Regions from separate parts of the Homo sapiens genome. Here all the other regions are linked to region 4. The links are contacts of gene promoters, found by promoter capture Hi-C in blood cells and fetal thymus (Javierre and others, 2016). All regions are on one chromosome and are shown on one strand. The core of a region is centred on a gene start or on the middle of the fragment in contact, and the rest is flanking DNA. Distances in the headings are between cores, read along the strand shown. Region 1 holds the start of IBTK (inhibitor of Bruton tyrosine kinase). Region 2 overlaps LOC101929004 (a long non-coding RNA gene). Region 3 overlaps IBTK (inhibitor of Bruton tyrosine kinase). Region 4 holds the start of SNHG5 (small nucleolar RNA host gene 5). Region 5 overlaps MAP3K7 (mitogen-activated protein kinase kinase kinase 7). Region 6 holds the start of PNRC1-DT (PNRC1 divergent transcript). Region 7 overlaps UBE2J1 (ubiquitin conjugating enzyme E2 J1).

Region 1 (4,161 bases), core at 1-2,500, 3.4 Mb after region 4:
GTCTCGATCTCCTGACCTCGTGATCCGCCCGCCTCGGCCTCCCACATTGCTGGGATTACAGGCGTGAGCCACCGCGCCCGGCCAACTTAAGCTTATTTTCAAAACCACTCAATTTTGACATTACAAACTGGTTTTTGTTTTGTAGAAGGACATTAAGAATAAAGAGCAAAGAAACAATTATGTGCTGGGAAGGGCAGTAGGAGGGCTGGGTCCTAGTCTCCCTTTCTCTTTCGCTAAGCAGCTGTGTGGCTTTGGGCTAGTAACCTACCCTCCCACAAAAAAGGCTTCAAAAGAGAGCAAGCAGAGCTCAGTGGGCATTAAGACATGCGCAACTCCTTTCTTTTAGAGATTAGATGAGGTCGACTCAGTGGCTTGTAAAACTCAACGTGGCAGAGCTGTACAGCCAACTCATGATTCTTAGTGTCGTTTGTTTTGAGTCACACTACACCTCCTTGAACAATCATTTACTGAGTGCTTACCGTATTAGGCATTCAGCAGCAGTGTGTTTCCCATTCAGTAACCTAGTATTGATTATTGGCTACTGTCCCTCCTAGCATTTTTCACTTGACCACTTTCTAAATGGCCTTTAGATTCAGAGTTCAAGTGGAAAAAGCCTAGTGTAAGCCTGGTGTCAGGCAGTGAGTGGCGTGACCCGGGTCGGCAGCTAGTCCTACGGTGGTGATCTAAGAGGGCAGTGACGCCTTCTGACCAAGGGAGTGACTGCCAGATAATCCGGGTGTATGGAGATCCAGAGAGGGGTGAGGCTGGGTTTACGGAGACTACACCTTTGGCTTTGCAGTAACCCCACTGCTAAGGCCATGGGAGGAAACTCTTCTGTGCAGGACGCCTATGCACTTGGCTTCTGCTGCGTAGCGACCGGGTGTCCAAGGCATCCTGCCAGGTCTCCTTCTCCACTCGGGTTTAGCCTCCCCCGCGAGTCTCCAGCTACCTAGAGAGACGTTTCTAACTACGAGATGGCTGGCCTGAAAGGGACACTCCCATCACCGTTGTTGGCCTAGAGTTCCCCGCTGCGGCCTTTTTCTTTTCCCCGCCCCTGGCCTGAGTCAGCGGCCCCAAGGCCGGCGAGGTCAAGTTCCTTTGGGGCGCCAGGGAAAAGGCCATGGCAGAGGTGCTGCCACGCGAAACCTTCTGGGCAGGCACCAGCCAATCATCAAGAGACATACAGGAGCCCCAGCCAACCAGCGCCCGCCTTATTACTGGGAACCGCCCGCTCGGGCCCTTCCTCTACATCCCCGTTCCCGATTCCTGTAGTAGCGGCTGTATTGCAGCCGCCTGCCGAACTGACCCGGGTCTGGGGACTGGCCCCTCTGGCGCCGTTCGGTTTCTCTTATTGCCTTCACTGAGGATGAGTCCCTTTGTGGCTCTATGTGGACCCTGCGGAATCCACCGGCGCAGTTTCATCTAGCGACTGGTGAGGGAGGGCTTGGCGCTGCCCGACCGTGCGGTGCGGCTTCCCTTCAGCCCGGGGGCAGGGGGAGAGTATTCGCCTTCTGGAGGGTGCGGGTGGCTGCGGACGGCGGCGCGGGGGGACCGTGGGGAGGGGACTCTGTGGCCCCGAGGCTGCCGGGCTTCGCGCGAGGCGGCGCGGAGAGGGCCGAGTGGCCAGGGTCCCTACCGCCCCCCTCAGCTAATGAATGGCCTGTCCCGGCGATGCGCTACGCTCCCGTCCTGCTGGACACGCCCTCCAGCGACATTGCATTCCTAGTTGTGATAGTTATGTAGTGTCACTTTCCTTCGAGTCTTGGATTTGAAGCCATTCCTGTGGGCGCTCATGTTCCTTATCCCCTTCCTGGAGTCACAAGTTTGAGTCCACCCTGGGGATACTGACTCTGGGGAAGCAGGTCGTGAAATCTGATAAGTGGACATTGATTGCTATGTAAAAAGGAACTGATTCTTTTTGGAGGGTGGAGGGTTGAGAGAGACAGAGAAGACAGGCCCTTTGTTTTTGTAACAGGCAGAGCTGTCTGGCTCAAAGAGTTTTAGTTCAGCTGCGAATTAGGTAACATAGGCCGTCCTTGACTCCTGTTTTCCAACGTAGTTCATAAAACTTGACTGTGTTAGCCAGAGATTCATGTAGCACCTTTTAACTTATGCCTCGAAGTAGGCCATTTGAAATTTATCAGAAATACTGAAAGGATATGACTTTTATGAGTAGTAGTGTTTCAGTGCCCATAAAGTGGTGTAAATTCACAGGCTTGCCAGCCCCCTCTTGATCATTTCTCTTTTTGTATTTTGAATTCCTTAACTTTTATTTGTTTTAGAAATTGAGGCAAGGTAGATGAGGACAAAACTGGTTTCTAAAAATAATTACATTTGCAAATATTTGCAGAAGCTTTAGTCAAACCAGAGTTTACTTCAAGAAATTTTTTAGGCCGGGCGCGGTGGCTCACGCCTGTAATCCCAGCTACTGGGGAGGCTGAGAATTGCTTGAACCCGGGAGGTGGAGGTTGCAGTGAGCCGAGATCGCGCCGCTGCACTCCATCCTGGGCGACTGAGTGTGGCACCATCTCAAAAAAAAAAAAAAAAAAAAAGATGCCTGTAATCCCAGCAGTCTGGGAGGCCAAGGTGGGCGGATCACTTGAGGTCAGGAGTTCGAGGCCAACTTGGTGAAACCCCGTCTCTACCAAAAATACAAAAAAATCAGCCAGGCATGGTGATGTGTGCCTGTAATCCCAGCTACTCGGGAGGCTGAGGCAGAATCGCTTGAGTCTCCAGCTGCCCTACCAAACTGCTTTTGAATTCAATTATTTTGAATTGAATTCCATGGTACTTTTTTCTACTACACTATACTACTTGCATTGAAATTTTTCTAACTGCCTTTTGGGAGAGCAGTTTGGTAGCATAGAATAGGTGGGATCAAGAGCACTTTTCTGTCGGTATTATTTTAGGTAGGCTTTTTAAACTTTCACATGAATCTCCTCATCAGAAAATGAAAGTGATCATATTTACAGGGGCAATAATAAGGATTATATTTATGTAGAGCACTGTGTATAATGTATAAAACAAAATTTCACCTATAATTTTTGTGTGTTTTTTCCGTTGTTTAATTTTGTTTTGCTTTACTCACTTCCAAAGTATTGACCCCTTACTCTTCTTTCTAGTTTCCCTATCTGTTCTCCAAGCCAGAAACCTGGGAATTACCACCACATCTTGTCAATTCAAGATCCTAAGTATGTCTTTGGATTGCCTGCCCTTTTTTTTTTAAATCTCTAAGAAAAGGCACATAAGGCTGTTCAAAATCCTGTCTATCCTTGTGTGTATGTTAGGCCTCACTTCTTTCTGTCTTCTGAATTATTTAGAAATTTTGGAATGGACCAAGATGATTCTAGTTCTTTTATATTTACTATCCCTTCTGCTTCAAATGTGCTCTCACCCAGAATTTATCAGGCCAACACATATGGTACTCTTTTTTTTTTTAGAAGGAGTCTCGCTCAGTCGCTCAGGCTGGAGTGCAGTTGCATGATCTTGGCTCTCTGCAGCCTTGACTGACCAGTTTTAAGTGATCCTCCCACCTCAGCCTCCAGAGTAGTTGGGACTACAGGGATGTGCCACTACGCCTAATTTTTGTATTTTTTTTTGTAGCGATGGCTTTCACCATGTTGCCCAGGCTGATTTCAAAGTCCTGGGCTCAAGTGATTTGCCTGCCTCAGCCTAACAAAGTGTTGGGACTACAGGCATGAGCCACTGTGCCTGGCCAGTACTCATCTTTTAAGTCTTAGTTTATACATAGTTTATCTCCTGTAGAAAGTCTTACCTGGACCCCTCTTCTGCACTCCCCGTTCCTATGTGTCACTTGTTTTATCTTGACCATAGGTTTATAATTATGATATGTTTTAGTTACTTGCCTAAATAAAATTACTCTCTTCTACCAAACTGTGACCCTTTGATAATAGGAACTGTGTAATAGATCATAAGTTTTGTTCAGTTAGTACATATGTTAAACTAGCTATGCATCCACCTGAGTATTATCCATGAACCTGTATTTTATTTTATCTAAAATATTTAGGTCCTAATTATTTTTGTATTCCCAATGCCTTGTGACCTACTATGGATGCGCTGAAGAAGACAGTGTAACGTAGCAGAAATAGCACGGACCTCATCATTAAACAGATCTGTATTTGAAGTCTGACTCCCTCTTTT
Region 2 (4,337 bases), core at 1,473-3,972, 3.5 Mb before region 4:
CTCGCTCCCTGGCTCGGCCGCAGGTAGCGACCGCCCGCGCACGCGCCCAGAGGCCTCCAGGACCCCGGCGGAGCGCGCACGCGGCCACACAGCTCCCAGGGCACCACCCCCAGTCCCGGGGCCGCCCCCGGCGCCGCGCGGGAAACGCTGGCGGCCGCTCGTACCCTACCAGGCGCTCTGCCCCGCCGTGGGGTTTTGGGGGTGCTGTGGAGAAGGCAGGGCTCGGGACTCTTCCACCTCCTTGGCTGCTCTGGCCTTTGAGTTATGCTCTAAGATTATCGATTACTTTTCCGTTGTTGCTTATTTCCCACAGCAGCAGAATGAGAACGGTTATTAGTTAATAGCCATCAGAGACAGACCAAGTGGAACACAGTCCTCGGAAAAACGCCACTCTGTAGCATTAGTAATTAAAACCTCACAAGGTTTGTATTTCCTGAAGGAGGCCGTCAGTGTCAATGCTGTACTAACGACGGTACTGTACGTAAGTTTCGGTACTGCCCCCACTTTCTTCTCCTTGACATTGTATTACTAAAAGCTGCAGCTACTCTCTACAGTTTTCTCATTGGTTACTAATGTCTGGAACAGCAGCTAGATTATGCAGTAAGCTCTTGGTATGTATTAGCTATTATATAATAATTTATTTGAATAGAGTAGAACTAAAAATTTGAAATGAGTTAAAACCAAAGAGTTAAAAGATTTATGGTAGTAAATATTCATACTGTTTTGTTGATTTGGACAGTTGTCTTGAACAGCTTTGAAAGGGAACATATGACAGGTTTCGTTTATAATTTTAATTGATGCTGAACTCCACTAACATGATATGTGCAGCTGGTGTTACATTATAACTGAGTTTTTTAATTACCCAGTGAAGAAATTCAAGATGTCATGCTCTTGTTTTTCTCCAGAGTGAACCACAAAGTCTGAAAAACTGTTGTTGACGGTATGCCTATTAATAACACTGTAGATGTTTATATTCTGAGGTTTTCCACATATTAAAAGCTTCTATCAGCTCTTCATACCCTATCATCTTTCCTTAATTTGTCTCAACTATGTTAAATGGGACACAATATATTAATGTGATAAACCAAATGAATATTTTGAAAATAAGTCTAAGGGAAGCTAACATGCACGAAGACTATCAACTACTGTTTTTACTACTCTATATGCTAATAATACCAGAGTAAATGTCACATTCCATTCACGTCTGAAAACTTTCTTTCTCAGTTAACACTCCAACAAAAACTCAGCTCTAAAAACAACAAATGTGTTATTAAATTCCTGGGCCCCCTTGGCGATAATAAATCTTTCTCTGGTATTCTGCTGAAGAAAATTACCCTGTATCCACGAGATCCAATATTATCCTGCTCAGTTAGTTGGCTAAAAAAAGGGGAGAAGGGGGGATTGGAGAGCAAAAGCAATAGGTGACATTTGTAGAGCAATTACTCTGTGCTAGGCACTGTTCCAAGGGCTTAGCATTTGTTAACTCATTTAATCCTCACAGCAAACTATGAGGTGGTTAATGTGGTTATTTATCTTCATTTTACAGATGTATGTCCAAGATTATAGAGCTAGTAAGTAGTGGACCCACTGTAGAACAGAAGCCAGAGTCAGCCTCCAGTGGCTGACTTTCAGCCACCATGGTCTATTGCTTGTGTAAACAGACATGCAAATTCATAAATGCATCTCCAGTTTATCTATTCAAATCAGAACCCACAACACTCATTTTGAATAAATTTTACTGCAGCAACTCTGCCTGCTGACATCAGTAGAACCCATGTTTGCCCTCCTCAGGCATCAATAAACAGCAACAGAAAAGGGATGCATATAATTTCATATAGAAGCTGCTATTTATATTGCTTTGCAGGAATTAACAAAGCTGCCACTTGAGGTAGAGGAAAGACAGATTCATTTCAAGCTCTGTTCCTTGTGTATATATGTGGGTGGGTGGGTGGGTATACATGCCCACAGGCACGTATGTATTCAGTTTCTACTGTTGACACCTTGTATTTCTTGCTCATGGTATTTTGCACCCTTGAATTCATTTATTTGATAAACTGTGATAACTTGCTGACCGTTTATCTTCCCCTCCAGGCTTTAAACTCTTTTGTTTTCCCACTGCATTCCCCAGCACCTAACATCTTATGGTCAGCATTTCCTCTGTGTTAATAAATATTTGTTGGCTGATTATTCTTCTTGAATCTAATAAACTAACTGAATAATGGCAGCAATTAACCATTAAACGACACTGACTACCAATAGACATTGTTATGCTTCTTCCTAGACTTCTCAGTCCTTTATGTGGAGCTGGGGGCAGGAAGAATTGCTTCTGGAAGCTGATGGAGTTGGACATGTGGCTTTCTAGAATCTGGTCAGCTCATAAATTCTTACTATTACTTTCATTTGTACCCATAATATTCATACAACTGTCTACCCTATCTATGTGCTACTGGTAAGGAACCTGTATGTTTTTATTAGAAACAAAAAAAAATGTATACAAGCTCCCTTCCTTTAGCTGGTGCTGGATCTGAGGAAACAATACAATATCCAGAATTTAGTATTAAGATGTATAACCTTTTTGGGGGGGTGAGAGGAGTGCAGATAGTTCTCTCTTGAGGACTGGTTTTAAAGTATATAAATGTTCTTTCTTGGCTCCTGATGAGAAAAAAGGGGAAAAAATATATAAAGATTCCTCTTCTTTCCTGGCTGCTTAGAAAACCAGCTGTCATCACAACTGACTCAATAACTTTGAGAACAGGACATTCATGACAAATGAGTGCTGTGGTGGAAAGAGTAGATCAAAAATTTCCTTTACCCTGGAAAAGCAACTAAAATACAGCCAAATTGTACAACTATACTGGGTATTATTTTGGGCTTCAGATTCAGAACTCCTTTTGAAAAGGCAGCAGGCTTTTGTATGGTTTATATTCTTTGAATTAAGATAGAAATAATAAAATAAAATCCCCAACATGGCAAAGCATGAGCTCATGGCAAAGCATGAGCTAAATGAGAAAAAAAAGTTTTTGAAAACAGAAAAAGGAATGGAATGAAAAATAAAATGAAGAAAATTAAAGGTAGAGAAAAAGTAAATAGAAGTACCAGAGAGCTTCAGTGCAGGATTTCAGGAATGAAAAGCAAACAAACAAAAATAATTGTGGGGGGCCGGGCGCGGTGGCGCACACCTGTAATCCCAGCACTCTGGGAGGCCGAGGTGGGTGGTTCACGAGGTCAGGAGATGGAGACCATCCTGGCTAACATGGTGAAACCCCGTCTCTACTAAAAAATACAAAAAATTAGCCGGGCGTGGTGGCACGCACCTGTAGTCCCAGCTATTCGGGAGGCTGAGGCAGGAGAATGGCGTGAACCCGGGAGGTGGAGCTTGCAGTGAGCCGAGATCGCGTCACTGCACTCCAGCCTGGGTGACAGAGCGAGACTCCGTCTCAAAAAATAATAATAATAATAATAATTGTGGGGGAAAGGAATAAAAAGTGCAAAAATGATTTAATCCAAGGAGAGAGTGCAGATATTTCACCAAAAAAATCAAACTTATAATACCTTCAAAATATATGATATTTCCAAAAGTGCATGTGAATCCAGCCTACATCGTTTCAGTTTAACAATACTTGGAACTACAGCAATTTTCTCCTGAACAAAATGCTGGCCACTGCACGATTTGAGGACTGCTGCTGCCAGCATGGAGAAGAAGCAAATCACAGTGTCACTTTGGTATACTGGTCATTTACAACATTCTCCTAAGCATCCCCAGACACACATGCAAACTTGGTTAACTCCAGAAACTTCTCTAGCTGAAACAAACACGTAACACGCACTAGATAGCACATGTAAAATCAATCTGGGCTAAGGTGTTGGAAGAGCTGGTTGTCATATGGCAGAAAGCAGACAACTAAGAGAGTAGGTGAGCAGAAAGGTGAATTTGATTGGGGATGAAGGGACATAGAGGAAGTGTACAACACATTGCTAAGGAATTACAACTTTAGCTGGTTTTGGTGGCTCATGCCTGTAATCCCAGCACTTTAAGAGGCTGAGGTGGGAGGATAGCTTGAGCCCAGGGGTTCAAAACCAGCCAGGACAATATAGGGAGACCCTGACTCTACAAAAAATAAAATAAAATAAAATAAATAGTAAATAAGCCAAGCATGGTGGCACACATTTGTGGTCCCAGCTCCTCTGGAGGCTGAGGTTTGAGGATCGCTTGAGCCCGGGAGGTCAAAGCTACAGTAAGCATGATTGCACCACTGCACTCCAGTCTGGGCAACAGAGTGAGACTTTTGTCTCAAAGTAAAATAAAACTTGGACAATGGCTAAACTATTGGATGTTA
Region 3 (3,879 bases), core at 867-3,366, 3.4 Mb after region 4:
TCCCTCCAGTTTGTTTGCTCTTTGAGATTTGGAAGTGGGAATTGGCAGAAAAGAAAAGATTTAATTGGGGCACTGTATAGTTTGCATTTAACTAGTAAGCAAGCTGAGTAAGGACACATTCTGTATTTCTATTTCTACCCTGGATACTGCATTGCAGGTTAACAGTGATAATTCCATTCTAAGACTTTATTCATCTTCTAAAATAAAAATGAAGATTTATATCATGAACTTAGCTGTGATTTGTATTCCAGTTTAATGGGCTTTACCCTAATCACTAGTGTGATTTTGTGTCTATGAAAAACAAAGTATTGAAAGTTAGTGTTCCTGTACAAAGAGTAATATCACATTTGCAACATTTAGAACCTTTGTATGTGTGGATTAATAATATCTTACATTTGATACAGTTCTATATATTATTTTCATGGAAACTAAGTAGATATGGCCGGTGGTGTTTTACTCATTTGGCAGTTAAACTTTAGCTGCTAAAGAAACAAGAAACAGCCTGGGCAGAGTGGCTTATGCCTGTAATCCTAGCACTTTGGGGGGCCGAGGTGGGAGGATCACTTGAGCCCGTGAGGTGAAGACCAGTCTGGGCAACATAATGAGACCTTGTCTCAATTATTAAAAAAAAACAACAACAAAAAAAAAAGAAGCAAGGAACAAATGTTTGATTGCTTGCATTGAGACAGGCCTGTACTATGATTTGGATTTTCTATTTCTAGAATTACCTAATATCATATTAATATATTCATTCAGAGAAGAGCGTTGGCATCTTTCTAAATATTGTAGTTAAATTAGTTCTTATATGTGTTTTAAAATATAAAAAAGTATAAAAACTAATTTTTATTTTAGATCCTACAGATGTTTATACTTGGGGCGATAATACAAATTTTACCCTGGGTCATGGAAGCCAGAATAGCAAACATCATCCAGAGTTGGTGGATCTGTTCTCCAGGAGTGGGATTTATATCAAGCAGGTATTTTTGAAGTACAATCTATATACTTTTAGAGATGAGAAAGAACTTTTGTATTTGATTGTTCAGCTTTTCATGTGGATTACATAACTTTGTTTCAGGTACAGTAACATTTTAATGAGGAAATCAATCAATAGAACTTTGCTAATTTTATTTTAGATATTGTTAGCCTTAATTATATTTAGACTTTGTAAAATACCCTAAAATATAAGATATTTGTGCAATTAGTGTTAGAAATTAGAAAATGTTATACAGATAGTAGTTTAATTTAAGAGGGTAAAGCTTCTCTTGATTTTCTAGCTTTTCTATTTAACAAACATTACAATTCTGTAAGCTGTTTCTCAAGTGAATTTGTTGTTGAAGCTCAGTGTTATTTTTGATAAGTGAACAACAGTTCTTTTTTTTTTGGTGGCATTAAAAAATAAAATAATTTCAATTTAGAAAACAACACACTTCTTGCAATTTTTTGTAACAAAATAATGTTTTTAGGTTCCAAGCTATTTATCATGAAGAGAATATGTTTAATCTTATGTGAAGTTGGATGACAGCAGTCTGGAAAGGCTATAGAGTTTTTTAACTGAGGGTCTGGTAAACTGCCAGTCATTCTATTTAATTATTTGTATTCACACTGACAAGCAATAAATAATTAAATGTCTAAGTCTCAGTTCTCAGTTTGGATAGTAGATAGAACTAAAATTTCATCACTTATGGAGACAGATAAGCAATGTTTTGGAAGTGTGGGGTTCAAAAATTTGCCCTTAGATGCTTAGGCACGAGTGATGCTTTTTGTGAACCTGAGTTCTTAAATGTAAGTAATTGTAAAATTTTAATAGATACAATTGTAAAGATTTGGTCTGTGGTCTTATATCCTTACAATGCATGATATCTTCTACTTCCCCAGATACAGCTACTGTTGACAAATCTTTCTGTATTACATTGTGTATATGTGTGTATGTATGTGTATCTCTAGCCCCAGTCTTTCTCTTGAACTTTATTTCAGTTGTACTGTGGGTATTCTTTCAAGATATTTAAATTTAGAATGTCTGAAGTGTTATTTTTGCCACTCCTAAACTACCCTATTCAATTTTTAATGTTATAAATCTCAAATTCTAAATCCTGAAGATGATACCTCAGAGCATGTCTATTTAGTTCTTTTCTGTCTCATGAACCTAGGTGCCATGTCCTTTTCAAGCTCTTTTTTTGGACAGTGACAACAGTGTCCTAATTTGACTTTTTGGCTCCATTCATTTCAACCCCAATAATATTCTTCTCCAGAATTATTTGTCTTAAAAAAGAGCTAATTATGTGTTTATCTACTAAGTCACCTTTGGATAAAGTCCAAACTCTGTGGCTTGGAATGTAAGAACTTTTTCAGTCTTCCTAAATTACCATTTCAACTTACATTTCCTACAACTTCCTAGTTATATTCTTTCTGCATTTTGAAGTTCATAAAACTTCTTTGATCCAGAATATGAGCTTGGAGTGTTTTTATCACTATAGTACTGGCTCTTTCCAACTTTCACCTATTATTTATATATGACATACATAACAACACTTAGTTTATATCCTGAGATTGAATTCTTAGACAGTTTTTAGAGCTACTTTGACAACATATCCCTAGTTTGCCCAGGACAGTTCTGGTTTATGATTATTTTCCTAGTGTAATTGTTAGTATCCCCTTTCATTCTCAAAAATGTTTGCATGATAAATAATATGACCACTATATTTAGGGCTCCATAGAACACTATTTTTTAAACTAAAAGTCACAACCTAATGCATCACAACCAGCAATTGAACAAAAAAAGCAATAGAATCCTTAAACTCTAGAGAATATTAAATTTTGAGAGAACAGGAATAAAAACCCATATAGGAATGAAAAGTGGCTAGAGAAGTAGGGAGTAGAATGGTGTCATGAAAGCTAATATTCTTGTGGGTCTTCTCTGTAGATGTGGAGGGAACTTAGGATAATGAAAGGACTTGTGATGGGCGAGAATCAAGCTTGGTGTCCAAGTCTTTAGTGAATGTGAGAGGGGTGAGCAAGATGGTGAGAAATCAGAGCAGGGGCAGCAAGTGTACAAGCTGCTCACCTAGTCTAGAGCTTTTTGCAGACATGCTAGTCAGTTTTTTTTTTCTCATGCTGAGCTTGAGTGGGTCCTCAGACTCCTCCTTAAAATGATAATCCAACCATTAGCAGCCACTAATGATTGATTGGAATTGTGGCACAAGAAAGACACCTGTTTTTCCTTTTTTGAGGTAGTACATGATATACCTTTATTTCATGAGCTGTTACGGAGCAGGGATTTTAAAGACAAGAGTGAGGGAATCATGATGGCATTAGGAAATCAGAGGGTGATTGAAATGTCTGATCCAAAGAAATATATAGTTTGGAATATTTGAGCATATTCCATTTGCCAGGGTTGTGAGTGAACTAGTGTACTCAAAGAGAAAGCCACATTTCAGGTAAGGCAAGGCAGTGGGCGTGTTTTGTGAAGGTATTAAGGATCTAAGGGATTTTATTTACCACAGAATGAGGGTGAAGCAAGCACAGTGGGTAGGTTTGAAGGAAAGAAATCAGTATAAATTTCAGTCAGGGAAGAGAAAGCAAGTATGGGAATATTAATTGAGTACCAGTTATATAGAGAGCCCCATTTGTTATTGAAAAGGGGCTGATTCTATATTATACAGTACCAAATTAATTAACTACCATGAGACAGAGATTATTAATGTTAGTATTATATATTCCAGATAATTAAAAGCGAAAATCCATGCTCAGTTCTTATTTAAAAATTCAGGGGTTTTAGGCTGGGCGCAGTGGCTCATACCTGTAATCCCAGCACTTTGGGAGGCTGAGGCGGGCAGATCACGAGGTCAGGAGATCGAGACCATCCTGGCTAACACAGTGAAA
Region 4 (4,274 bases), core at 213-2,712:
TGCTCTAATTACAGACATAAGCCACCACACCCGGCCTACTTTGCTTCTTATATCCTTTTGTACTGTATTGTTTGTTTTACTATTTACTATGAGCAATATGCAAATTTATGTAAGACATTACAAAGTAATACAAAAACCGACAAAATGCCCGGCCCAGTCAATACTTCATCATATAGGTTCCTGTTAGAGAAAAGTGCTTTTCACTACTATCTTTGAATGTGAAGTTTGATCTTCATTCTAATTTTCTAAAAAGCCACCGAATGTATTTGTTCATTCATTCATTCATTTAACCATTACCGACAACCTACTTAATGCTAGGCACTGTTCTAAGAAAAAATAAACAGCAGAGCACGAAATCAGATGTGTTGCTCCCACACTCTAGCAGAATCGGACCGTAATCAAATGCACACATAAACAACTTTAATAAGTAGTGCTTTGAAATATAGAAGTGAAGAACGACCTGAATTTTCAAATACTGAAATGTTCAAATGTCGTGTGCACACACACACACGCAGACATATTCACTCGAACATGCTAATTAATCAAAGCACTGCTTTTGAATTTTGTGTTTGTCGTCTGGATAAAGTATTCAGGGATACTTCTCAAATTAATCTTTCTCTCGTTTTCAATATAACTAATTGAGTACAAAGAAGTTAAAAATTAGCAAAGCATTTCAGCTGTGTGACCTTAGGCAAATTACCTGGCTGTTTTAAGCCTCAGTTTTCTCCTCTGCGAAATGGAGTATTGAACCTCACGTTCGCTGTTTGAGGGAGACTTGTATGGTCACGTTTAGTGTAACCGGATGCCTGGCACGAGGAAGCGTGAGGAGGAATGGATCCCCATGGGGCCTTGATGCCCGCCCTGAGGCCCTGCAGGGCCGCACGCCGGGGCTGTTCTCACGTGGCGCTTTCCGCTTTTTCACCCAAGCGTTTCTGCCAGCCAACTGCCCTTTCCCGGAGTGCTGCGGCCAGGGCTCGCCCGCTCCTCCGGCGGCCTCCGCTGGGGGCCCACTACAGCCCAGCGCCAGCCAGCCAGCCAGCCCAGCTTCTCGAATCGGTCCTAAGCTGAGGCCGCCCTGCGCTGCAAAACTTGTGTCCACTCTCGGACCCAATCTGTCCTGGACGGACTTGGCTCGTGGCAGGCGAAAGCGTCGTTTCCAACTGCAGCTGTTTGAATTCTGGCGCCACACCCGCGCCACGTAGGGCCAAGTCGGCCGCCAGACTCGTAAGAGACGCTTCGCAGTGCGCCTGCGGGCGCGCGCCGGGAAATGGCCGGGCGCGCGGCCGGCCTGCGGCGCGCTCCACAACGCGGAACGGGCCTCAGAAGAGCCACCGCGCGCGCTCCCGCTAATTCGCGACCACACCCCTGTCTACTTCCATGTCCAATAGGTGCGAGAGGGCGGGACGGCCTCGTTCTGACTCCGGGAGGCTATATAAGGAGCTACTGGCTGCGCACTTCGGTCTTTTACGTCGGCCTTCGCGAGCGTCTGGGCGGGTGGTAGGTGAGTGGGTATTGCGGGCTAGTATCCGAGCAAAAGATGGTGGCGCAGGCCGAGTTAAGAGCTTTAATCCTGTGAAGACATCTTAGTGAAGAGTTTAGAGTGCTGAGAGTTGAAAGCTTGCACGTGGGAAACGTGCGGCCGGACTGCCACATGTACTGAGGTTGAGTCGTGACGGCCACAGGCTCCGAGTTTTGGCGTGAGGAACCGCTGATCGGCCACGGGCGCCGAACTTGCTGGCCTCCGGCATGTGCCTGAGCGGCGGCGGAAAAACCACCTTAATTGGGGCGGAGGGTTAGTTTTAACAGCAAAGGGCCTTTACTAAAATGGCGAAGGCCTTCCGTCGGCGTTGTTTTAAAATGGGAAGCCTCGACCCTGTATTGAAACTGAGCTGTTCGAAGGCGGCGTTGTGTGCAATTCGGATTAATGAAGGGGAAGGGTTTTGTGTGGAAAAACGCCTTGGAGTGTGACATTTCTGCGAGAATGCTTAAATACCGATTTCCCGCAGGAACAATGGCGCTGTCTTCAGTGGCACAGTGGAGCAGCTCTGAAGATGCAAAGGTAAGAGCTTAGTTAAGCTTAGTTTCCAAACTAAAGGAGTAAACCTGTTGATTTACAGGAATAGGAACTGTTGCATCGTTTGAAATTTACTTTTTTTTGTTAGATACACGAAAAAACTTCCAGAACATCTGGGAGAATATTTAATGGAAAATCGCTTGGTTAAAACCTGACACTTTTAACAGGTATGTGTTGTTTTAGTACTTTATGATTGAGCATAGCATTTAATCCACACCTAGACTAAATCAAATTTTTTTTGTCAGTGAACAGCGTTCTGAGTGTGGACGAGTAGCCAGTGAAGATAATGAATGTCGAATGTGACTGACTAGCAGCTTCATTTTGAAGTAGGTTGTATGGCTTAAAAGTTCTGTAGTATTTGTACTATAATACTTGCCTTTTAGCATTACCTTGGTTTGTAGTCAGTGTCACAGAAGTGCAGTTTAATGTATTATGTGTACATATACAAGGTCTGATTGGTCTAATCAATGATGAAACCTATCCCGAAGCTGATAACCTGAAGAAAAATAAGTACGGATTCGGCTTCTGAGATTAAGACCAGTAATTCAGAGGTGGAGTAAATTTTGTTGCCGTGATTTTATAACAGTTGTGTTATAAAATCCTGGGTTTTTTTTTTTTCTGCCAACAGTGAGGGTCGCTGTCTGCCCATTGATAGAGGCCAGATTGTCTTGGAAGTTCCAAAGTTGCAACGATTTCTGTAAGTGGAGTTTTTCTGTTTGCTTAGAGATCAGTGAATATTGTGTCCTTGGTCTTATCTGTGATGATCTTATCCCGAACCTGAACTTCTGTTGAAAAAAAAAAACTTTTACGGATCTGGCTTCTGAGATGGACCGTTATAAGGACAATATTTTTTTTTAATACTTTTAATGCTTTTACATATGTTGTAATGTTTGTAGTCTTGTAAGAATCTCGTGTTTTTCCTTTTCTAGGGCTAGTGCCACGAGGTTTACTTGACTGTTGTGTGAAAAGCTGATAAGAAAACCATCCAGAAAAAAGCTCTTCGTTTTACAAACATGAAAATAAAACATGTAATTTTGGATTATGTTCCTTTTTGTTATTACTTTTAAATAGGTCCTGAAATAACATGGGGAGCATTAAATGGAAAATCCACTAACCAGCCTTGTAATCAAATTACTGTGAGTGAATGTTTCGGGTTTGTGCAGGGTACAATGTAAGGGTTTTTGGATCAGTGTAAGAGTGGAGAGACAGGAATTAGAAGTAATTGTTACTAAGCAAATCATGGAATATTTAGTTTTGATGTAACTATAATTTTGAAAGCCTGGATGCTTAAGTTGAGAAATGGGGGAATGAGATACAGAAAATAAGGAGCACAATAGAATAATAATAGCAGTTTATTAAGTATGGTCATGAGGGAAGGTTACTGATAAAACAATCTGGTAAAGACATTCAGGCTTGCTAAAATCTAGGAAGAGGTCATTTGGCAGGATGGGTTACATAATGCTATCTGATACTACCAAATAAAATGAGAGAGAAGCCTTAGGCATGTAACGTTTGGAGATAGAAAATGTACCTTCACTATGAAGGTAGTGTGTGTAAGATGGCAGTTGAAAGCATTGCTTGTGTTTATGTTTATACCCTTGATCTCTGATGCCCTTACCTACCGTACTTAAAACTCTGTTAATCATTGTCTTTCTCCCCCTCCCACAACTTCTGCATAAAATTTTAAGATCTGTGTTTCATTAGTTCAAGAGTGCCTAGAATAGGGCCAGGCACTGTTATACAGTATGTGGTAAAAGACTATTGAGATTCCAGTTTTCAAGGAAGAGTGCCATTACCGTTTTGTTAAAGCTGGCAAACAAGACAAAGTTGTGAAATAGACTGGTTGCTTTGGAGCCCTCTGACCGCTTTTCCTGTAGCTCCTTCTACCTCCCTTGCCTCCCAATAGATTTTTTAATATGTCACATTATCTATCGAAATTAGTACTCCACATTTATATGCACTGGCTTGTGCTAGGCTCTGCCAAGACTCCTGAAATAAAACCGTTTTGTCAACAGTGGCACAAGATGCCAAGGAAAAGTCAAGCTATGAAGGATTCTTGAAAATAGAACAAGTGGATTTGAGTCTAAACCAGCACAGATGTTGGGACAATAGGCCTAAGAAATAACTGAGCAAAGACAGTATGGTTCAGAGTCTGAGACAAATATTGAGGATTTGGGTACCAACAGGGTGGATAGGTGTA
Region 5 (4,256 bases), core at 329-2,828, 4.9 Mb before region 4:
CTGAGAGGTGGAGTGCAGACAGTAATGAACTTTCTTAACCAGCGTTTCCTGTTGGAGCGGTGGTGTCCACAATTTTTTGTTTGTCTGTCTCCCACTGGTAAAACAAAACACTTTCTATTTTGTATACTCAGTTTTCAGTGTGTATGTATGAAGTCGGTATTTTTAAACAATGGGAGATGAAAGGTTTCATACTATCATTTGATCATGGCTCAAGTTGCAATAAGTACTTTCTAAATAAAACCTTTCTAAAATGTGAGAATTGACTTAATTAAAATGAGATAATATCTGTAAATCTACTTAACTAAGGTCAAGTAAACTACAATATACACAAGTGAGGGACTGATAATGGAGTCAGTATTTGACATATTGAACTTAATAAGCCTGTAGGACCCCTTAGTCTCAAAGGCAGTTTTAAATATATCTTGAGCTTGGGCAAAAAACCTGGATGGGAGAGATTTGAGAGTATGAATCCATGAGATTAGAGAACAGATTCAGAAACAAAAGGGCCAAGGACAGAACCCTGGAAAGTAGCAACATCTAAGGTTTGGACAGAGGAAGGAAGAATCAGTGAAGGAGGCTAAAATAGAACTCTTAAGCAGAGACAGGCAGAGAAGGGATTGTTGACAGCCATCTTTGGAGACTGCCATAAGCCCTTTATACACAAGCCTTCTATTAACCCAACTTCACTCTTTTCTTAAAGGAGATTAGGGCTTTTTAAAACCCCCTTCTAAACAGCTAAAATCTGATTCGAATATAATCTTTTGAAAAGTTAATTGTTGTTAGTTATCATACTTGCTGCCTTTGAGTAGCATTTTTCTCTGTACCAGGCACTGGACCAAATCCTGGCAGGCCTCTGTTTTGTTGGCACCATGAAACATACCTGAAAGCTGACTCTGATTTACTAATTACATGATCCTTGAATAGGTAACTTCAGTTCTTGGAGCCTTGGTTTTCTTCTCTCTAAGGTAGGAATAAAAAATCCTATATATTCATGGGTTTATGGTGACACTCAAACTCCATCATATTTGTAAGAAAGAGCTTTACAAGTTGTAATATATTGTTAAATATAAGGTTGCATTATCGTTATACAGATAATAAAATTGCATTTCTTTAAAATGTTATTTCTTGAAGAAAGGAATGAGAAGTATATTGGAATGCCCTGGGAAGCTTTTTTTATGCTACGTAGCACCTTCTGCCACCTCTAATTCCCATTCAGACTTCTCCCTTAGAGAGCTAATATCAGAATGGGGGGAAGGAGAGCAAAATATACCAGGAAACAACTTTATCCATTGTATATATCATCTGATTATTCTATCTTCTACTCTTATGGATATATGCTTATACTCTTTTTTGTTTAAAGCACAAAACTCCTGTCTCTGGCCAGGTGCAGTGGTTCACGCCTGTAATCCCAGCACTTTGGAAGGCCAACCCAGGCAGATCGCCTGAGCTCAGGAGTTCAAGACCAGCCTGGACAAGATGGCAAAACCCCGACTCTACTAAAAATACAAAAATTAGCTGGGTGTGGTGGCACAAGCCTGTAATCCCAGCTACTTTGGGGTGGCTGAGGCAGGAGAATCACTTCAGCCAGAGAGGCAGAGGCTGCAGTGAGCTGAGATCGCGCCACTGCACTCCAGCATGGGCAACAGAGTGAGACCCTGTCTCAAAAAAACAAACAAAACAAAACAAAACAAACTCCTGTCCTCCTGCCGGTATTTCTTACTTGTTTTTAAAAGTTAAGAAATGTAACTATTTTTCTATAAACTACTGTTTAATTATGAGTCATTCCTCTTTTCAACTCAGTAGAGAAAAGCATTTAATCTTGCCACAACAAGGATAATTTCCATGTAATACTTACCTCTTTTATGTATCTTTGTACTCAGAAATTTCAAGATTAATTCGGTTATTTCAAAATTCAGTCTTCCCCCATAAGGATTTTCCTTTTCCCTTTCTCCTGCCCAAGATGACATATGGGTGCTGTGGAAAGCTTCCACAAATAATATAAACAGCAAGGGAGAGCTCTCTGGTCTGTGTGATGGCTTCCACTGAAATATCTTGCCTTATTATCTGTTGTTAATGGATTAGCCTTGAATGCAGTGATTTTCAAACATTGAAACTACCTGGAGGGCTTGGTAAAACATGGATTGCTTGGCCTTACCGTCAGACTCTATAATTCTGGGTTGCACCCTGAGAATTTATATTTCTAATAAATATCCAGGTGATGTTGATACTGCTGAACCGGAGACCACACTTTTAGAGCCACTGGCATATGCTTTCACTGTCCTTATATCTGCTTTCCTTCTGGAACGTCTTTTTCTTTTGGCTTCTCTGACTCTCTCCTAGTTTGCCTGCTACCATATTGACTGTTCCTTCCTGTTCCTTGCCCATTCCTTCTCCTCTCTTGTGATCTAAATGTTGAACTGCTTCAAAGCTCAGTTCCTCTACTCCACTATCTCCATATTATTTTTGGTTACCTCTTCCAACTGATTGACTAGAAAAACTGACTACATGCTAATGACTCCCAAGTTTGTATCTCTTTGTCTGACTTCTCCATAGATCCTCTCACTCACGTTTCTACCTTCTTACTTGATATCTCCTCTTGGATATCCAGTAGGCATCTTAAACTTCATATGACTAAAACCAAACTCTGAGTTATTAAAAAAAAATCTGCATCATTCTTATCCCTCAGTAAACTGTTGTCCAGTCTAGGTGTTTTCCTTGATTCAGCTCTTTTCCTCTACACCTGTCCTGCCTGGATGCAGAGCATCAGCAAACCCTATTGACTCTACTTCTAAAACATTTCCCAGATCTGCCCAGTTTCTGCACTACCATTGACCTTGCCCTCGTAGCTATTGTTGCTTGTTTGGACTGCTGTAATGGCTTCCTAATGGGTCTCTATTTACATATCCTAGCTTCCCTACAATCCTTTCTTTAAGAGCTATAATGATTTTGTTTAATGTCACATACCATCCTTACTTCCTTGAATTTTTTCAGTTCCTTCACATTGCACTTAGACTGAAATTCAAACTCCTTTTTATGGTAGGTAGAGCCGTTCAGGATCCAACCTCTGCCTGTCCCTCCAGCCTTACCTTACAATCACTCTTCCCTTCCTCCACTATACACCAGCCACACCAAACACTCCCAAGTATTTCTCTAAATCATCACTAAAATGTCACCTTTCTCAGTGAGGCCTTGAGTGATTACCTTGTCTAAAATTGGAGTGAGGCAGAGTGCATACATGTGTGTATACACACACAATTATACTCCTTTTCTTCTTAGCACACAACTCCCTTCCTTTTTATTTGTCTTTTTCCACAAGAATATAAACAATGAGAACAAGGATTTTGATTTGGTTTGTTCACTCTTGTATCATCAGTGCCTAAAATAGCGCATAGCCCTTAGATTGGGCTCACATATTGGAGTAAATAAGGTAGTGAGGTTTTTCTTTTCCCTTAGGGCAAAGCTTTATATTAGTTGTTTCTTCTGTGTGTGTGTGTGTGTGTGTGTGTGTGTGTGTGTGTGTGTGTGTGTGTGTGACAGAGTCTAGCTCTGTTGCCCAGGCTGGAGTTCAGTGGCGCGATCTCGGCTCACTGCAACCTCGGCCTCTCAGGTTCACGCCATTCTCCTGCCTCAGCCTCCCCAGTAGCTGGGATTACAGGTGCCTGCCACCACGCCCCGTTAATTTTTTGTATTTTTAGTAGAGATGGGGTTTCACCGTGTTAGCCAGGATGGTCTCAATCTCCTGACCTCGTGATCCGCCTGCCTCAGCCTCCCAAAGTGCTGGGATTGGTGCCTTGTGTCATCCAAATGTCAGATTCGTAACCTCTTTATATGGCCTTTTCAAACTGCCCAGCCTGGAGCTGCCACTAGTCTCTTGGTCATAGCATCCTATTTTTTGTTGTTGTCGTTGTTCTATGTGGCATTTTTTTAAAGTCTGATTTTTTTCTTACTCATCTTTTGTTTGTATATCGATTTTCTTTTCTCCTCCCCTCCCTTCACATACGCTAGAAAGTACATTTGTGTAGATCAGAGCCTTTGTCTTATTTCTTTCTGTATTTCTGATGTCCCAAACAGTAGCTGGATGTAGTACACACTAAAGAAATATTGGTTTAAGGAGTAAACAAACGAAGTTCATTATTCTTTCAACATCAAGCCTCACTTGCATCCTTTGAAGGCAGAAGACCTAACCCAGTTCTCCCTGCTTGCTGACCAGGCCTTCCCCTTGGCTTTCATTAATCCTCTGAAACCCAGCTGTGTTC
Region 6 (4,205 bases), core at 923-3,422, 3.4 Mb before region 4:
GCCATCTCCCCCTAGGAAATGAGGGAGGAAGAGGGTCGGGGGCAGTGCCCGGGGGTCCGGGATCCGGGGTAAAGGAGGCGGAGCCGTGGTCACCATCGGGAGGGCCCCAAAGTAACCTCGGGAGGAAAAGCCAAGCGGCGCAAGGCGGCCACCCAGGACGAGCGGCTCCCGCTGCGGGACGGAGACGACAGTCATAGCGCTAGGAAGCTTGTCGCTCAGCAACGAAGAGAGAAGGAGAAGGTGAATGAAGCCAGTGAAGATAGGGTGGCGGCGATGGATGCTGCTAGGAGAGCCTGAGAAGATCGCGGAACATGACTCGGGCGGTGGCGGCGCAGCAACAAATAGCCACAGCCCCAGCTCCGAGTGTTGTTATCGGAAGCTCCGCCCCGCGCCCGCCCACTTTCCTGCGAAAGCCCAATTAGAGTGCGACAAGGCAGGCCACGCCCCCTCGCTCCGCCTCCGCAGCTTCGGGTAGACACACACAAACAACCAGCTTGCTGCAGCCTGGCACAAAGAGGGCGCACTGCGCAGGCGCTGCCAGCGAGCTCTTTTGGGAAGAATCGGTCCCGCGAACAATGAAATTGGGTTTCCGCCCCACCCTCTTTACTCCTCCCCAGCACGCCCCTGCGCTTCGCCGGGCTAGGGAGTGGTGGTACTGAAATGTCCCGGCGGAGTTTGTTGATGGGGGTGGGGAAGGGAGGGGGCAGGGGGAGGGCGGCAGGAAGAACGGGGGCTGGGAAGAGGGGATGACTTTGGCAAGGCCACGGTTGCCTCCTCCGCTGCTGACCTTGGGGAAGTATCCGTTTTATTTTCAGCCCAACATAACAGCGTTATCATTTTAAAACAAAGATTTCTAAGTACGCTGTAAGGATTTCTTCCCTAGCAATCGTGAAGAAAATCAGTCTACATTTAAATTTTATCTACTGAAGTATGGCTCACGATTCTTTCATTTACTTGGTTCGGCATCGCTGCTTATTAGTCTCGGTGATCAGAGTAAAAATCAAAGTGACTTACTGATTGAATTAGCCCCTCGATGTATAAAAAGTTCTCCGTAAATCCATAAATGGAAGTTGGAGTTTTTACTGATTTCATACTTGAAGGATTGTGAGACTTTGGGATCAGAACATTGTGCCTGGTTACTTGAGGAGGCGGCAAGCCGGCTTGCGTCTCAAAGGGAGAAAGTGAAACAGCTCTGCAACATAGAGTATTTTGTTAGCTGCGCGTAAATAGAAATTTTTCGCGATCTCCCCGCACTGCTCAACCACAAAAAAGAATTGTGGCCATAATTTATCAAGCATTTATGTTCCAGGAACTGTTCTTTACATAGATTGTCTCACTTTAACCTCACAACAACCCTTACGAATAGGTACTAAGAAAAATAGATCAGACCTCAGCTCTGCGAAGTAGGCAGGCTGTCATTCTCTTCCTTTCACTACTAATGCCTGGGGCAATTGTTTAAAGGCATTTTGTTCCTGATTAGCTGCCTACGCATTATCTTTAAGTTTCTGAAATTTAAGATACAAAGAACAATGTATAGCTAGTCAAGAGCCCACGATATTTTAATGTAAATTGGTAAACAATTTAGGAGCTGCCTCTTTTCCTTTAAAAACCTACTTGTAACTTGCTAATCCGAGTGTATATTCAGGGCAGCTTGAATCTATGGTCCTGGGTTGCAGTCCTCAAGCTTGGCCTGATTTTGCCTCAGCTTCTTTTTGGAGGGACAGTACTGTATTTTATTCCCATTTTACAGCTGGGGAAACAGGCTTAGAAAGGCTAAAGGACTTGTCAAAGATCAAACGGTAAGTTAACATCAGAATTTGATCTCCAGTCCAGGTACTGCAAGACAAAAGTTTTAATTTTTTTTTTTTTTTTTTTGAGACGGCGTGTCACTCTGTGGCCAGGCTGCAGTGCAGTGGCGCCATCTCGGCTTACTGCAACCTCCGTCTCCCTGGTTCAAGAGATTCTCCTGCCTCAGCCTCCCTAGTAGCTGGGATTACAGGCACCCGCCACGCCCAGCTAATTTCTGTATTTTTTAGTAGAGACGGGGTTTCACCTTGTTGGCCAGGATGGTCTTGATCTCCTGACCTCGTGATCCGCCTGCCTCGGCCTTCCAAAGTGCTGGGATTACAGGCGTGAGCCACCGCGTCCAGCCCTGCCACACTAGATTCTACATTATTAGAAGACCACAGTAATCTTACACTTCTGTATCCTCACCGCCTCTACAATAGTTTTCAGCTTTGGAGTAGTAAGCAATTAGTAAGCAATGAAACGTTTTATGATTGATGGCAAAGTTGGACAGATTGCATATCCAGAAAAATGCTTCCCAATCACTTTATAAACTTTTTTTTTTTTTTAGACGGGGTTTCTTTCTGACACTCAGATTGGAGTGCAATGGCATGATCTCGGATTACAGCAACAGCCGCCTCCCAGGCTCAAGAGATCCTCCAACCCCAGCCCCCCACGCCCCTGAGTAGCTGGGACCACAGGCACACACCACCACTCCTGGCTAATTTTTTGTGTTTTTAGTGGAGACAGGGTTTCACCATGTTGCCCAGGCCGGTCTCAAACTCCTGAGCTCAAGCCATCTGCCTGTCTCAGCCTCCCAAAGTGATGGGATTACAGGAGTGAGCCACCAAACCCAGTCAACCTTATAAGCTTTTAAAACTACATTTCAGGCCAGGCGTGGTGGCTCACACCTGTAATCCTAGCACTTTGGGAGGCCGAGGCGGCTGGATTACCTAAGGTCAGGAGTTTGAGACCAGCCTGGCCAACATGGCGAAACCCTGTCTCTACTAAAAATATAAAAATTAGCTGGGCATACAGGCTAATGTGCCTGTAATCCCAGCTACTAGGGGGGCTGAGGCAGGAGGATCGTTTAAACCTGGGAGGTAGAGGTTGCAGTGAGCCGAGATCATGCCACTGCACTCCAGCCTGGGCAACAGAGCAATACTCCATCTCAAAAAACAAAAAAGAAACCAAAAAAACTCCATTTCATTCCAATTGCTGAATTTTACTCATTTTTGTTTCTGCAACATGTAATGCATAGTAAGTGCTCATGTTCATTGGATGGATGGGAATCATGGACATCCAGAGCTGTAAAAGAATCTACTTTTTCAAAGCACTTTCCATCTGTCATCTCATTTTATTCTTACTCTAGCACTTTAAGGTTGATATAGAGAGGTCCTATTTAACGTATGGTGTAAATAAATTTAAATATATAGTAACTTGCTTGGGGGGGGGGGTTCACAAAATGAGGTAGGAATAACTCGAACTCCTGATGCCTAGTCCAGTGTTCTTTTCACTATATCCCATGATTTTAGGCTTGACTTTATCTGGGGATAATATCATACTGTCCTAGAGAATAATTTACCCTTCAGGGAGCTGGTCATTGGTAGCCAGCTCTGTGGGGCCCTTGGTCAAAGATACCTATTATTGTCTATGTGTATTTCTTGGGTGATTGTTGGAGTAATTATGTGTATAACTTATCATTTTGAGGCCTTAAGTGTAGGCTTCATGTTTGCCCTGGGTTCTGTACTGTAAGAAAAGTAACCTTGCAGCTGTGACCACCTGGGTGATGGGTGCTGAGATTGCTAAAATGGTGCCCACCACTAAGAAACAGAATGGGAGCTGAAATGGGGCACTTAGAAGAGAGAGGTCGAGGTTTTATAAGCCAGATGATTGGATTTAATGTTACTCTGTGTGGGTAGTCTTTGTAAACCCTTAGTCTTTAGTAAAGTCTAATTTTAATGTTTAAACCTAAGCGTTACAGGTTTAAACATATAGTGTTAGCTGTGCTATATGATATAAAGGAAAAAGATCAGGCTGGGTGCAGTGGCTCACGGATGGCAAGGTGGATGGATCACTTGAGGTCAGGAGTTGGAGACCAGCCTGGCCAACATGATGAAACCCTGTCTCTACTAAAAATACAAAAATTAGCCAGTTGTGGTGGTGCATGCCTGTAGTCCCAGCTACTTGGGAGGCTGAGGCAGAAGAATCACTTGAACCTGGGAGGTAGAGGTTGCAGTGAGCCGAGATCACGCCACTGCACTCTAGCCTGGGCGACAGAGCAAGACTTCATCTCAGGGAAAAAAAAAAAAAAAAAAAAAATCAGATCCTTTTGCTTGGGCCCAAAAGGCCAAACTTGGAGGTAACAAGATATTCCAAGGGTAAAGGAAATTTTAGGAGAATTCTCAGAGTTCTTGAAG
Region 7 (4,305 bases), core at 844-3,343, 3.7 Mb before region 4:
GGAGTATCAGGAGGGGCAGACTATGCTGTAGCCCGGTTGCCAGGCAGCACTGTGAACCATGACTGTTTCCTAACAGTGGTATTTCTCCTCAGGAGCCAGGGAGCCATATCATAAGGCCAGCGAAATCTGCTGAGGCATGGTTTTGAGTTAGGAAGAATCATTGAGAAGGCCTTATATACCAGTCCATTTTCAACCTTAATGACTCAGGGACTGGGCAGGAAGGAGGGGTGAAAAGGAAAGGAGAATTTTGTGGAGAAATTATTGACTCTTATTTGACAGATGTAAACATCAGATCAAGTGACTTGTTCAAGGACTTAGAGCTACAAAATGTCAGAGTCAGAATTTTAATGCAGCTCTAAATCGAGTCCCTGTTTCTTTTCACTGAAGCATTCATAATATATGTTATTTTTGCAAAAAAAATAGCTTATGGAAACAAGAGACTAATCTCACCTTTTGGCTACATGACCTTAGCTCTTACATGGTATGTGCCTGAGTGACTTATGAACTAATTAGCTATTTAGCTGTTGAACCAATGATTGTTCCTTTACAGGATTGGTACAGATACATTCTTATAACAATTCTGACCCTTTATACATCTCTCATAATATCCAGGTACAAGTTTTGAGTGTTTATTTTCTTCTCTCCTGTTGAACTGAACTGAGTAGGGAAGAGGCAGAGAAAATGCGATAAGGGTATAGAATGACATAAAATCTGACTTCAGCTTAATCATTATTGAGTTCAGCCAGTTGACGAGGAATGAAGGAAAAACAATCTTTTTGGCATCTCCAAACTAATTAACTTCATAACAGCTTCCATAATTGCATTTCTATCTAATAATATTAACTTAAAGGAATGATATGTTTATGTGGCTTTAAAGCAGGGTTTTCCATCTTTGTTCTATGGGTCCCTTCAGGAGTGAAATGGAAGGACAGGGAGTAGATAGTCCGCAGGCCCTTCCACTGGCCTCTGCAACCAAAGCGGCTCTGTGGTTTTTGTTTCACCTGTTGGGGTTCTCATTAAGCTTTCTTTGAATGAAGGATTTTGTTTTATTAAATAAGTTTAATTGTTTTATTAAGTAAGTTTAAAAACCATTGCCTTTAATCGGATTCTGAGAGCTATGTTGAGAGAAGATAGTAAAATTTAATTCAACTAATATTTGAGTACTTACCATGTGCTAAGCCCTGAGGAGACTGTACTGCTACAGCTACACTGTCATTACTATTGCTTAGCAGGAAAAACAGATATTAAACAAGTAATTACAAGTGAGATGAACTTCATAAGAGGAAAAATACAGTGTTATGATGGCATAGAGCAAGGAGACTCAACCTGGTCTCTAGGGCAGTGGTTTCTAAACCTAACCAGAGTAATTCAGAGAGCATTCCTAGTCTCTACCCCTCCCTAGGACGCCTCAGAGATTTTGATCTGCCCAGATTGAAATCTCCAAGCACTGTAGGGGGTGGGGGGCAGGGGGCAACCAGGGAAGGTGTCATAGAGACATTCCTGAGAAGTTACTTAAAGGTCTAGGGTAGCCAGACTAGACGGTGAGGCGGAGGATGGGGCCGGAGCAGCCTGGGCCCTGAGGAAAGCTGTATAGAAAGGCTGAGAGTGGAGGGGAGGTAAAGTGTGTTCAGGGAATTGACCAAAGCCCAGTCTCTAGACTTGGAGGGAGAGGGTGTCTCAGTATGTACATATTTCTAATATAGCATTTATCATTCTGTTTTGTATTGACTGCACCTCCCAGCCGTCAGTCTTTAGTGACCAAAGCCATATTTTGTTTACGCATGAAGCTGTAGCATCTAGTACCTAGTAGGAACTCAAGAAATAGTTGATGATCCAGTGAACAAAGTCTCTGCATATAGGGGCTTAGTTCAGAGTAAGAAATGGAAAAGAATATTAATAATTGTGAAGTAGGATAGTAACAACTTTTTTTTGGCCAGGCATGCTGATTCCCGCCTGTAATCTCAGCACTTTGGAAGGCTGAGGTAGGAGGATTGCCCGAGACCAGCCTGGGCAAGACAGGGGGACCCCAGCTCTACAAAAAATTTAAAAATTAGCCAGGCATGGTGGTGCATGCCTGTGGTCTCAGCTATTGGGGAGGCCAAGGTGGGAGGACTGCATGAGCTTGGGAGGTTGAGGCTTCAGTGAGTGAGCTGTGTTCGTACCACTGCCCTCCGGCCTGGAGGGCTTTTTTTTTTTTTTTTAGACGTAGTTTCGCTCTTGTTGCCCAGGCTGGAGTGCAACAGCACGATCTCAGCTCACTGCAGCCTCCACTTCCTGGGTTTAAGCGATTCTCCTGCCTCAGCCTCCCTAGTAGCTGGGATTATAGGCATGTGCCATCACACCAGGCTAATTTTGTATTTTTAGTAGAGATGGGGTTTCACTATGCTGGTCAGGCTGGTTTCAAACTCCTGACCTCAGGTGATCCACCTGCCTCGGCCTCCCAAAGTGCTGGGATTACAGGCCTAAGCCACCGTGCCTGGTTTTGTTTGTTTGTTTGTTTGTTTTATTGAGATAGTCTCTCTCTGAAGCCCAGGCTGGAGTGCAATGGCACGACCTCAGCTCACTGCAACCTCCACCTCCTGGGTGCAAGCGATTCTCCTGCCTCAGCCTCCCGAGTAGCTGGGATTACAGGCGTCCGCCACCATGCCTGGCTAATTTTTGTATTTTTAGTAGAGACAGGGTTTCACCATGTTGGCCAGGCTAGTCTCGAACTCTTGACCTCAGGTGATCCACTCGCCTCGGTCTCCCAAAGTGCTAGGATTACAGGCATGAGCCACCACGCCTGGCCTCAAATGCAATTTTATGCAAAAGTCTTGATACATACCAAACCATTGTGGTTATATACATGTAGGGGTTCCTTCTCAGTTAATCTCTCTCCCCATAACATTCCAACCTGTGCCTCTACACATTTTACTTTTATTATTACCTCTTCCTATTCATATCTACCTGGGGAGTTTCTACTGTTATTTCTTTCACATTCAGTACCTGACTCCTTTTCTCTTCCATTTGCTCTAAAGTTAGATGCCCAGCCTGTCCTCCCAGCATCTGGTGCATACCTCTCTTTTGAGCTACATCAGTGGTTGCAAACCCAGTTTTGAGAAGCCTTTTCCCTAACTCAGCCATCCCACTGCAGTATCCTGACATGTTTTAGCACCAAAAGCTTGAAATGAGAGGGGTTGGGATCCAGAGTGCATATCAAAGGATTGAATTTTGAGAGCCAATAGAAGACAGAGGGTGCAGATACAGATAGGATTGTAGATTGTGATAGGCATCTGAGCAGCTCCTGCTAGCAGTCATTCATCAGGGAGATAAAAAGCTGGGTGCCATTAACTGAAAGAGAGGAGAAATTAGACTAGGTGGGAAATAATCTTGGAGTGCTAGGTGGAAAGAGTAGGCTGGAAGGCCTACTAGAGAAATGTGGGGACATTAGGTGGCATTGTATCCCAGTAGAGGTTGTTGGTAATGACTTGTAATGGCATTACTGCACCATCCTCTCTGACTTTTTTTCCTCCTTTCAGTGATGCTCAGCTGTTTGGGTATAGACAGCAAATAAGATGGTTGGGTTGGGTCAGGCACAGTTGGATTTTATTAAGGGAGTGTACAAGAGGGACTCCTAAGAGCCAAGGGTGTGGATAAAGAGGAAAATGAATATAAGTATAGGAGGGGTGAAGAAAGTTGTGGGGTCAGTGGACTGGAGGTTTTAGTGAAGCTGAAGGATCATTTCAAGAAGGAATTTCATCGGGGCTTTGGAGAGTCAGTGAATTCAGGGGACAGTCCATTCATTTAATGCAAGATAGTGGATGGAAAGTCCCAAGAGTTGGAGGATATAGAGGTGTTTCCTGTTCACCGAGCATGAGATCCAGAGAATACATTTTTTGTTAATAAAGACATTTTAACAGGTAGAGCCAAATTGCCTGTGTTGGAATCCCATCTCTGTCATTTACTAGCTGTGTGACTATATAATCTCTCCGTGTCTCGGCTTCTTCATCTGGAAAATGGGGATAAAAATAATACCTATCTAGTAATGTTGTATTAAGGGTTAAATGAGTTATTAATGTCTGTAAAAGCACTTCAATAAATACCACCATATAGGAAGTATATATAAGTACTTATTAAATAAAAATAGTGTCTTCACTATATATTTAATATATAACTCTTTTAAAGTGTTAATGCCTAGCAACTGTTTCCTTCCTCTCCCCCTCTATTTATTCCCATAATCTTATAATTAAACCTTTGCCATATGCTCATTTGCACTAGTTCTCTACACATTTTTTCATTAGGCTCGTAAGACTGTGCTAATCATTC

Evidence for each region. Contacts are between HindIII fragments. The CHiCAGO score rates a contact against its expected background, and 5 or more counts as called.
Region 1: a contact is called between the fragment with the promoter of IBTK here and the fragment with the promoter of SNHG5 in region 4, in 8 of 17 cell types (naive CD8 T cells, activated CD4 T cells, total CD4 T cells and 5 more). The highest score is 13.8, in naive CD8 T cells.
Region 2: a fragment that was not itself captured here is called in contact with the fragment with the promoter of SNHG5 in region 4 in 1 of 17 cell types (neutrophils); the score reaches 9.9 in neutrophils.
Region 3: a contact is called between a fragment that was not itself captured here and the fragment with the promoter of SNHG5 in region 4, in 1 of 17 cell types (activated CD4 T cells). The highest score is 7.5, in activated CD4 T cells.
Region 5: a contact is called between a fragment that was not itself captured here and the fragment with the promoter of SNHG5 in region 4, in 1 of 17 cell types (neutrophils). The highest score is 5.6, in neutrophils.
Region 6: a contact is called between a fragment that was not itself captured here and the fragment with the promoter of SNHG5 in region 4, in 2 of 17 cell types (activated CD4 T cells and non-activated CD4 T cells). The highest score is 5.1, in activated CD4 T cells.
Region 7: a fragment that was not itself captured here is called in contact with the fragment with the promoter of SNHG5 in region 4 in 2 of 17 cell types (total B cells and activated CD4 T cells); the score reaches 6.3 in total B cells.

Annotation. Positions count from the first base shown.
Region 1 is chr6:82,244,833-82,248,993 of GRCh38, reverse strand. IBTK (inhibitor of Bruton tyrosine kinase) reads left to right here and starts at 1,250. Exons shown (of 29, transcript NM_015525.4): 1 at 1,250-1,432. RefSeq lists a silencer at 1,448-1,617. The HindIII fragment of the contact is 2,262 bases long and covers 94-2,355 here.
Region 2 is chr6:89,141,778-89,146,114 of GRCh38, reverse strand. It overlaps LOC101929004 (a long non-coding RNA gene), which reads left to right. Exons shown (of 4, transcript XR_942766.4): 1 at 1-422; 2 at 2,282-2,368. PM20D2 (peptidase M20 domain containing 2) reads right to left here and starts at 60. Exons shown (of 7, transcript NM_001010853.3): 1 at 1-60. RefSeq lists a silencer at 1-243. The HindIII fragment of the contact is 3,442 bases long and covers 1,002-4,337 here.
Region 3 is chr6:82,228,816-82,232,694 of GRCh38, reverse strand. IBTK (inhibitor of Bruton tyrosine kinase) reads left to right here. Exons shown (of 29, transcript NM_015525.4): 4 at 853-977. Among named protein-coding and RNA genes, the nearest start is that of IBTK, 17 kb to the left of the region's middle. The HindIII fragment of the contact is 1,716 bases long and covers 1,259-2,974 here.
Region 4 is chr6:85,675,921-85,680,194 of GRCh38, reverse strand. It overlaps SNHG5 (small nucleolar RNA host gene 5), which reads left to right and starts at 1,462. Exons shown (of 6, transcript NR_003038.2): 1 at 1,462-1,501; 2 at 2,007-2,059; 3 at 2,163-2,241; 4 at 2,320-2,400; 5 at 2,703-2,771; 6 at 3,004-3,188. SNORD50B (small nucleolar RNA, C/D box 50B) reads left to right here and starts at 2,536; the gene lies at 2,536-2,606. SNORD50A (small nucleolar RNA, C/D box 50A) reads left to right here and starts at 2,827; the gene lies at 2,827-2,901. RefSeq lists enhancers at 1,492-1,651, 1,822-1,881. The HindIII fragment of the contact is 13,479 bases long and covers 1-1,619 here.
Region 5 is chr6:90,575,697-90,579,952 of GRCh38, reverse strand. All of the region lies in intron 1 of MAP3K7 (mitogen-activated protein kinase kinase kinase 7), which reads left to right. Among named protein-coding and RNA genes, the nearest start is that of MAP3K7, 9.2 kb to the left of the region's middle. The HindIII fragment of the contact is 817 bases long and covers 1,170-1,986 here.
Region 6 is chr6:89,076,885-89,081,089 of GRCh38, reverse strand. PNRC1-DT (PNRC1 divergent transcript) reads left to right here and starts at 510. Exons shown (of 1, transcript NR_187250.1): 1 at 510-928. It overlaps PNRC1 (proline rich nuclear receptor coactivator 1), which reads right to left and starts at 339. Exons shown (of 2, transcript NM_006813.3): 1 at 1-339. The coding sequence starts at 195. RefSeq lists silencers at 305-454, 505-714 and an enhancer at 1,145-1,234. The HindIII fragment of the contact is 971 bases long and covers 1,687-2,657 here.
Region 7 is chr6:89,343,803-89,348,107 of GRCh38, reverse strand. The region is part of intron 1 of UBE2J1 (ubiquitin conjugating enzyme E2 J1); the gene reads left to right. Among named protein-coding and RNA genes, the nearest start is that of UBE2J1, 6.8 kb to the left of the region's middle. The HindIII fragment of the contact is 2,139 bases long and covers 1,024-3,162 here.